3 separate regions of the Homo sapiens genome follow, and regions 1 and 3 are each linked to region 2. The links are contacts of gene promoters, found by promoter capture Hi-C in blood cells and fetal thymus (Javierre and others, 2016). All regions are on one chromosome and are shown on one strand. The core of a region is centred on a gene start or on the middle of the fragment in contact, and the rest is flanking DNA. Distances in the headings are between cores, read along the strand shown. Region 1 overlaps ANTXR2 (ANTXR cell adhesion molecule 2). Region 2 holds the start of PAQR3 (progestin and adipoQ receptor family member 3). Region 3 overlaps ANTXR2 (ANTXR cell adhesion molecule 2).

The links. The method cuts DNA at HindIII sites, captures the fragments that hold promoters and counts their contacts. A CHiCAGO score of 5 or more calls a contact.
Region 1: a contact is called between a fragment that was not itself captured here and the fragment with the promoter of PAQR3 in region 2, in 1 of 17 cell types (M0 macrophages). The highest score is 5.4, in M0 macrophages.
Region 3: a fragment that was not itself captured here is called in contact with the fragment with the promoter of PAQR3 in region 2 in 4 of 17 cell types (monocytes, M1 macrophages, M2 macrophages and 1 more); the score reaches 10.8 in monocytes.

What each region holds. Positions count from the first base shown.
Region 1 is chr4:80,020,938-80,024,029 of GRCh38, forward strand. All of the region lies in intron 10 of ANTXR2 (ANTXR cell adhesion molecule 2), which reads right to left. Among named protein-coding and RNA genes, the nearest start is that of ANTXR2, 51 kb to the right of the region's middle. The HindIII fragment of the contact is 487 bases long and covers 1,103-1,589 here.
Region 2 is chr4:78,937,996-78,941,307 of GRCh38, forward strand. PAQR3 (progestin and adipoQ receptor family member 3) reads right to left here and starts at 1,443. Exons shown (of 6, transcript NM_001040202.2): 1 at 1,045-1,443. The coding sequence starts at 1,229. RefSeq lists silencers at 973-1,042, 1,133-1,622. The HindIII fragment of the contact is 16,646 bases long and covers 1-3,312 here.
Region 3 is chr4:80,044,182-80,047,459 of GRCh38, forward strand. All of the region lies in intron 7 of ANTXR2 (ANTXR cell adhesion molecule 2), which reads right to left. Among named protein-coding and RNA genes, the nearest start is that of ANTXR2, 27 kb to the right of the region's middle. The HindIII fragment of the contact is 727 bases long and covers 1,531-2,257 here.

The sequences.
Region 1 (3,092 bases), core at 96-2,595, 1.1 Mb after region 2:
GGAGATTGAGACCATCCTGGCTAACACGGTGAAACCCCGTCTCTACTAAAAATACAAAAAAATTAGCCGGGCATGGTGGCACGTGCCTGTAATCCCAGCTACTTGGGAGGCTGAGGCTGGAGAATCACTTGAACCCGGGAGGCAGAGGTTGCAGTGAGCCGAGATCACACCACTGCACCCCCAGCCTGGGCGACAGAGCGAGACTCCATCTCAAAAAAAAAAAAAAAAAAAAAAAGATGGTTTAGCTAAATCCAGAAGAGAATAAGAATTCCGGATGTTTACATCTAATTAACTATACTTCTGAACTATTCCAACACAGAAGGCCAAGTGGCGTATTAAGAAAGAAAACTTAAACCTAATTGCTCATTCTGAAGAAATGGGTGCCTTGTTTTGTTTTTTTAATGACTAAGCATAATCAAATAAAAAATTGTCTTCCCTAGTTCTTAATTCCTCTACTTTAAAGAATGTGGCCTGAATCATCTGACATGTTGGCATGGTTTTATTTTTTGGAAAGATAATTTTCATTCATAATAATATGTGATTCTTGCAGGTAATCTTACTGATTCAACTTTAAGGGATCAGTAGACATTGACTGAAGTTGTTTATAATCTGACAGTTAAAATTCACCAGAAACGAACAAGTTCTCTAATTAATGAAGGAAACATTCAAACTTTTAATGCTTAAAAAAATGAAATGAGAACAGAAGATGTCATTTTAAAACAAAGTTTACTCTTTCCTATGGTAGAAATGCATGCTGATATGATCTTGTAACCGACAAAAATAACTGCATTCTCCGAAAATCTCATTCTAGTATAATGTGGCTGGTGTAAAAAAAAAACAAAAACTGAGTTAATTCTCCGCAGATATAGAAATCCACTTGATGATATATGATGTATGGAACTGAAACAAGAATATCTTCCTCCTTTTGAGAGTAGTAGTAGCAGCGTGATCAAAATGTAACCATAAACACCACTCATAATTACAGGCAATTGTTGATTTCTTACTAAGAACCAGACACATTAATTCATCTTCTCATTTAATTCTCACAACAACCTACTGAGGTCAGCACTAGCATCATCTCCATTTTGCCCATGAAGAAACAAGCTTATAAAGGTAACTTGTCCAAATATTGGACTTCACTGACTCTGTACTCAAAATGCTTTCACTTCTACAACATACTACTTTAATCCTCCACATGTATTTTAGCATCTTATATTTAAATTTCTCTCATTAGTATGAGTTTCATTTGAATCTTCTAGCTTTTTACTACATTCACATATTTCTCATGGTTAACTAGAATGGCATTTACTATATGCTAAAGCAATATATTTACTTGTGAATATATATATTTATGAATATGTGTGTATAGATATATGTATTCTGTGAAAATTTTTCAGAAAAGTTGCAAATATGAAAAACACAGTTACATCTGCTTTTAAACTTTGCTGCTTCTTTAGAAAAACATTTTTGAAATTATTGGTATGGTACTGGCACCATCATTAAGCTAGAGCCTTTGCCCAAAGCTATGCTACTCCTTTTCTGGCATAGGTTGAGAAAACCGCCCACTGTAATGCAAACCAAATTCGGTAAGCTTTCCTTGCCTCAAGAGTCAACTATACATATTTAGTGTTTTCTGTCATATTTTATGTCATTTCTGTTAGCATCTATGGATTGTTATTCCTACTCCTACATAACTTCTACTTCTAGTTAGTATGTTTCTGACAGTGGAAGCCATACGCTCAGTAACAGAGGCTTTCTTATGGGCAAAAATGTATTAAAACAACATTGTGTTTACTTAGTTGCAAACATATATGGGAAGCAAGAGAGCAGTTCATTTTTATTTGCCCCAAGGATCTAATAATATTGAAAAAGGGCATTTGGGCGAAACTGGAGTCCTGAGTTTGAACCCTCATCACTCCATTTTTAATCTTCCATTTCTCAATCTGTAAAATGGGGATAACTGTACCTATTTCAAAGTTGTTTTAAGGAACAGAGCTTGGTAAAATAATATACATAAAATATACAACACAATACCTGGGACACAACAGGTACTCCATAAATTACCGTTAACACCTGAATATTTGTCTAATGGATTATTTAGAATATCAAGGTACTTTTTAATAAACCTTTTAGATCCAAGCTAAGAAGAAATGTATATAGAAGCAATAAAATCATTATGTAATACCTTTTGTTTAATTTAATTAATTTCTATTCTGCTCACTGCCATATAAAAATATTGTAAGCTAAATTGTTCAAAAAATGCCTACTATATAATGTCAGGCAGTTTCATGTAAAAAATTTTTTCAATGCCATATTCTTCCTGTTATAAAACATGACCTTGATTAAATCCAACATTATAGCTATGTTGAGCTCTGTGCTTAAACCTCAGGCCTAAAATCACACTCCAAATTGGTTTAGGAATATCTGCCAATAAAATCACTCAATCAGTCACTTATTTTATTACTAGTTAATTAAATGAGTATTTATTAATTGATTGTAGTAGCAATGATAATTGGGCTGTACTTGGTAAAATGGCTGCAGTAACAAATAATACAAATTACAATGTAAATAAAAGGAAGCCCCGTAAACAATTACAAAAGAATGCGATATTAAATAGGTTTAGGCACAGGGGTTCTAGAGGGCTGTGTGGGAGATTCAACAGACTTGGCCTTGGCATAGAGGCATTAGCAAAGTTTTCCTGCAGGAAGTCGACTACAGGATGAAGCTTAAAGAATGATCAGAAGTTAGGAAATGAGATTAGAAAGGAGTCCATGCAGATGGAGCACTCCGACAGGGTGGAAGGCAAGAAAGGGACAGGGACAGAACAGTCAAGGCAGTAAAAGTGATTCAGTACTCCAGCAACAAAAGAGGGTGAGAGTAAGAATGAAATGGCTCCAGGTTGAAAAGGGGAGCAGAGAAAAGATCATTGAGTCCCTGGATGCCATCTTTAGACATCTGGAATTCGTCTTAAGAGTTTTAAGTTTGATAGAAATATAGTTAGAAATGTGTTTTACAAATATCATTCTTGTTACAGTGTAAGGCAGGGGTCTGAAGAATAAATTTCAAAAGTAGAAAGACCAGTTAAGAAAGTC
Region 2 (3,312 bases), core at 193-2,692:
TCCATTCAAGCCAAGTAGGGATGGGCAGTGATGTCACCTTGTGACCATGAGTCACAGAAACACTTTCATGGCAGGACAAAAGGAAAGAAGGGCAGGAAAAGACAATGCTGGAAAAATCAAGAATCAGACATGTGGTTGCCGCTTGAGCAATTCAACAGCCCACATTCTGGCACTAGGGTTTGCCACTACAGCGACCTGGAGCTAACCAACACCTGTATCTTAATTCTCCTGAAGCAGAGGTCCTGTATTTTAGTACAGGTAGTAAGTTTGGACAGTTACTCCAAGAACTAGAATAGTTATTTTTCAGTTTTGTTTTTTTAAAACACGGATTTTCAAGGGACTGTGGTTTTAAAGGTTTAAAATGATAAAGAAATTTCTTTCTTAGAGATGCTTCTGTGGTGCTCTAGTGGAGACTGGGTGCCCGTTATGAGCTCTCTTTACCACAGTACTTTTCCTACACAGCATTTTTTCCACAATGGTTATTATGTAATTGTGTAATTATCTATTTAATGTCTGTTACCCAGGCTACACCTTAGTAGCTTCATGAAAACAAGGGCCATGTTTGCTTTTTTTTCTGCATGGGCTCCATAAGTATTTGCCAAATGAATAAATCTCGGGTGTATATGTTAACTTGTTTCCTATTATACAGGCACTTATCTGGCCCAAAGCTACTGAATTCCCACAGTGTTGCTCTAAAAAGAAAGGTATACACCGGGCAAATATGGCTCAGCCCCATTTCAATATATATCTCAATGAGCCGAACAAACCGAATAAAGGATGTAAAAGCCCTTTGTAAAGAGCAAAGCGTCATAGGAGAGCTGTAATTATGATCACTGTTACTATCATGATTATTCCGTGGACCAAGTACCCCGGCCAGGTAAGGGGAGATAACGGGGGAGGAGAGGCGGCAAAAAGGGATGAAAAGGATGGGGCGGCGAGGAAATGATGGGCAAGCAGAAAGGCGGGGAAAGCAGAAGGGGGACCAGACAAAAAGGGTGTAGGTGAGAGAAGGGGGCACTCCAGGCGGAGGCAGCCAGACCGTACCTTTTGATACACAGCCTGGACGGCAGGTAGGCCCGGTAGCCGTCGGTGATGTACGGGTTGTCCTTGAGGGACCCGGGGATCTGCTCGTAGGTGTACAGGCGGATGCCACGGGGCACCAGGACCGGCCAGTACTGGTAGCTGCCCAGCTCGATGTAATGCGCGCTCTTCAGCAGCTTCTGATGCATCGTTCCCGGCCGCCGCCGCTCCCCGGCTCGGGAGCTCCCCCAGGTCCCGCCTCCCCGGGGAGGGGGCTTCGCCGCTGGCGCCCCCGCCCCGGAGCCCGCGGACGCTGCGCGAGGTCCTACCGCGCTGCCGCTGCTGCCCAGGGCCCGGCTCTGCGCTCACACCGGCCACTGCCGCCAGCGCCGCGGCGGACCCGGCAGCGTCGCAGCCTCCTCTGACGTCAGCGCGCCGCGGCGGCCCCGCCCCTCAGCCCTAGCTGGGAGGGGCAGGGTGCTGGGGCGCGCCCGGGTGTGCTCGAGCGTGCGCTGGCGGCGGCCCGGGCTCCCGGGCGTCTCTCACGCTGTGTTTTGGCGGCGCCTGGGGTCTTCGTTTGCATATGAGAAGAGCCGAAAGCACAGAGCTACAGGCGAATACAAGTGGATTTTTTTTCTTTTTCTGTTTTTTTATTAGAAGTAATAGTTGCTGCATTTTGAAAAATCAAGAGGAAAAGAGTTAACAGGAAGAAAAGTTCGAGGTAATTACCGTTTAGTTTATGCTTGGAATTACACACACTTAGTGTCAGAAGGGACTTTGAGGATTTCTAAGCTGAAGTCAGCTCTTAGCACGATAATTGGAAAGAGAGGAAACCTGATGCACGTGGAACATACACCAGCATCGAGCACATCCTGAGCCATAAAGGAAAGCCCCCGTGCATTCAAAACTCCGACCCCTTTCAGCGTTATGTTCTCTGATCACAGTAGAATTAAACTAGAGTAACAAGAAAACTAAAAGTCTCCACGTCTGGAATAGGAGCAATACACCAAATATTTCAAGGGCTGATGAAGAAATCACAATGGAAATGAGAATATCTACTTAACTGAATAATATAGAACATATTAAAAAATCCTGTGGAGTGCGGCTATAGTAGCGTTTACAGGAAGTGTTGCAGCTTTGTTTCTGGCTATTTACTGTAATGCAAGTGTTTACTTATAATGGCAACAGGGCAAAACATCAGTTTGAGTACCGTATGTGTATAATAGAACGCTTAGTCCATTGTTTGGCATTGTAAGGGCAAGAAAAATATCTTGTCCTCACTTATCACAAGGTTCACAGCTGACATTCCTATGAAAAAAATTAAGAGAAGCCAGGCGCAGGTGGCTCATGCCTGTAATCCCAACATTTTGGAAGGCCGAGGCAGGCGGATTGCTTATGCCCAGGAGTTGGAGACCAGCCTGGGTAACATAGTGAGACGCTGTCGCTACAAAAAAAACCAACCAAACAAACAAAAAACAAAAATTAGTCGGGTGTGGTGATGGGCGCCTGTAGTCCCAAACTATTCTGGGCTGAAGTGAGAGGGTTGCTTGAGCCTGGGAGGTCGAGGCTGCAGTGAGCCATGTTTGTGCCACTGCACTCCAGTCTGGGTGACAAAGCGAGACTTTGTCTCAAAAAATAAATAATAAAAATTAACAAGAAAAGGGATAATAAATTCATTTAACACAGTTTTATGTGACAGAGGAGTCTTCAGAAATGAAGACACAAAGACCCAGGAAAAAATGGGCTTTTTATGCTAAGTCTGATGAAAGGAGTGGATAGTTGTGGAGAAACATGATTGAAAGGGGGCATCATCTAATGATAATAAACTGAGGGGGGATCCTAGCTAGCAAGGCCAGTTCATTCAAATTCTTGGCCTCAGAGTATGGGGCAGGAACTCTCTAGAATGAGGGTTTTATGACCTAGTTTCAGGTGAGGTAAGTCAGAACTCCTTTGTGACCACGGAAAGGCAGGGACAGTCAGAAAGTAACCTTACTAGATTTTTTGTTGTTGTTGTTGTTGGGGGAAGACAGAGTCTCACTCTGAAGCCCAGGCTGGAGTGCAGTGGCACAATCTCGGGTCACGCAATCTCCACCTCCCGGGTACAAGCAATTCTCCTGCCTCATCCTCCCGAGTAGCTGGGACTACAGGCACCCACCACCATGCCCGGCTAATTTTTGTACTTTTCGTAGAGATGGGGTTTCACCATGTTGGACAGGCTGCCCTTGAACTCCTGACCTCAAACAATATGCCTGCCTCAGCCTCCCAAAGTGCTGAGATTACAGGCGTGAGCCA
Region 3 (3,278 bases), core at 644-3,143, 1.1 Mb after region 2:
AAACATCCATAGCAAAAATAACCAGAAATCATCAGAAGGCATGAGTTTTGTGAGAACCTTGACTTAATTTCTTCTTTCTTAGAGGTTTCATGATACATGTGGAATCATACTTTGATTGAGATCTTGTAAGTTCCTGAATATGTTTACATAAAAGACACATGCTATAATAACAAACGTAGGACACATAAGAGGTAATAAAAGCAATATCATGTCCTGAAAAACATACACAATGGATATAGTTATGGCCTTTTCTTCTGGTATTTAAAGTAATATGGGATTTGTGGAGAGTTGTAGTTGGTGTCGATCCAAGATAATAATTTATCATGCAATAAATTAAGATGGGGAGATAAAATCAAAATATTATTTAGGACCTATGTTGTCTTTGAAGTTTATGTTGAATTTGAGAGAAACATCTATGAGCTAGACCTTAGGACTTGAAGATCAACCACCCAGCTTGACCAAAACAAAAACACCTCCTACAATTAATATAAGCCTAGACATATTTTAAAATCCATATTTTTTTTCTAATTTCTAAGTGGCAACAGGAAGGATACTATATCTGGAAAACAGAATGCAGTCCATTCCAGAAGAATGAAATAAAAACTTTTAAAATGAATAACACCACATATTCAAAATTCAATCTAATATAAAAAGTATATAGCGCAATATCTTATGAATAGCAGCTACTCAATGAATGTTTATTCTATTTAATTAAAAAGTAAATGCAAAACTTTTTAATAAGAAGCATGGCCATTATGACTATAACATAAAAAACAGAGCATATAACACTAAGAGTTATGCATGTAAAAAGATACAGAGCTTACTGAGAAGTTATTTGAATTAATCAAAGCATATTTTCAGTTACACACAGTGAAAAAAATTATTTGGATAAATTCAAATTTTGGTAATTAATAGTACCTATAAGGCATATTGGACCAGATGCAAAACTAAACAAAAACAAAAACAACATGAAGAGAAACAAACTTAAGTTATGTGTTATCTTCTTTTTAAAGTCTTATTTTAGGTAGAATATATAAAAAGAGAAAAGGGGTATTAACTCCCATTAAATGGTTTCCTCTGTAATAACATTTTTTAGGATCAACTCTAAATAATAAGGCTTTTTCCTCCCCAAAATAGATTATTTCTTCATATATACATTCACATGTGCTACCTAAAGTTCTCCAAAATTTTTACAAATCTATTAAAAATTCTAAATATTCACCTCAGCAAGAATTTTTTGACACTGATTTTGGATCTATAACATCACTGGCAACCGATCATCACAAATAATTTACAAGTGCTCCAGGTGTGTCCTTAACAGATAGAAACTGCCAATTTCCATGACCCACAGCATGTCAGAAAATATTGGCAAGGGTAGTAGAGTCTAAAAAAGCAAGGTTTTTTTTTTTTTTCCTGACTCATTGAGCAGCTTTAAACACTAAAGGATTCATCCCCAATACAAAAAGATTTCAAGTTTAAATCAGGAGAAAATATATGAAAAGTATTAGTTTTAAAGGTCTAACAAAATGAAGCTTTAGTAATTAGACATCCAACTGCATAACATAAGCAGCAAAAACAACTGGAAAGGTGTTTCTCATCCTCTTGTCTTGTTTCCTTTTCACCTTTTAATATTCAGATGTGTGATTTTTATTTTTTCTATGGCTTCCAAACACCCCAGCCAAATATATTTTTCTCTAAGGGGTAATACTTCAACTAAGAACAATTGCTATTTTATAATCACATGTTTTGGTTGAGTTCATTCCTTAAAAATGCTTAGAGCTTCAAAATATCAGTTGCTCAATACAGCACACACCACTCTGACTAGTTTCTAAATATGGATTCTCTTCTGTCTTGCAAGTAAGCAAGGAATAAAAGCACACATGACAAATTTCTAAACAAACTTTTACCCTAAGAGAACTGTGGAAGAAGGTAAATCATACTCATTGTCTTTTAGTCTTCTGAGCTCCAAACAAAACAGATGGATAGTTCTGATTACATTGTTGATGAACATACTCTCATATAATAAATCTTTTTTAAAACTTTAGTTTCTTCCACATCTCACAATTCTGATATTTAAAATAAATCATATTAGCAGTCTTGCTGTTTCATTACAATATAGAAAAAATTCCAAAAATGCATAGTTTGTGATTGGAAACAAGTTTATCTGCCACTACTTTTTGGTTTTGCTGTTGTCGTTGTTGTCTTTGGTCACCACAAACTCAAAATAATCATTTAATGCTAGCTTAGAAAATAAATAAGCTTCCTATAAAAACTGCCTTGAACTTATGAGATAAAATAATAATAAATAGACTATTTCAGAATTTGAAGAAACTTGTTCATGGTATAATTTTCACTCTGATGCAAACATTATTTTGTATTAGCCTTATTTGCCCACTTTCTTGTTTTACTAAGACATGAAGTATATCTGCCAAGCAGTCTTAGTCTATATTTATTCCATTTGATTTTTCAGAAATCCAGGATGGCAAATGAAATGTTTCCCTATGCAACAATAATAGAAAAAATATCTTACTAATTCTTCTATTAATTTTCCAAATACACATCCTAAAAATTGTAAGCTCTGAAGAGTTTGGGGACCATACCCATTTTGGTAATACAAAACACAGCAAAGTGTCTTGAACACAGCCCAGTACCCAACAAATGCTTCTGAATCAACTGAGAATTATTATATTTGGAGAAAATGAAGTATAATTGAGAAATTGTACATTTTTCCTCATAATGTACACCAAATGGTACATTTGGTGACAAATATTAACCATTTTCTGCACCTGTTCAATTTCCTTCCACTCAATTAAATCTGCTTTTAAGAGCAGGTAAGCCTCTGTAGGACACCTTTTATAGTCCAACAGGTTAATGTTAAGAAATTAAAATTTGGAATTTCATTTTATCTGTGTAACCAAATGTCATCAGTTTAGTTTAGTTTTCTCACAAACTATCACAAAGCTGTACTTATTTATTCAAAGTGGATTTAATTTTCTTAAACTACAATCCCAACCAAATTTTTTTTAAAAAAAAGAAAATAATAATATTATTAGGGAATATTTTCATGCAAATACAAATACAGCTTTGGACAGTAGAGGCCAAAATAAGATCAGTTAATAAAATGAATAATTTAAAGGAAACTTTCTATGTTTATTATCAAGTGGGATTTCGGAGGAATGGGGTGTCTTCTTAGAATATATGTCAAAATATTTTAAATGTATTTGAATATAGTGAGCTGTCATCACTACTGATTTTTTTGTTCCTACCCTGGACACTTT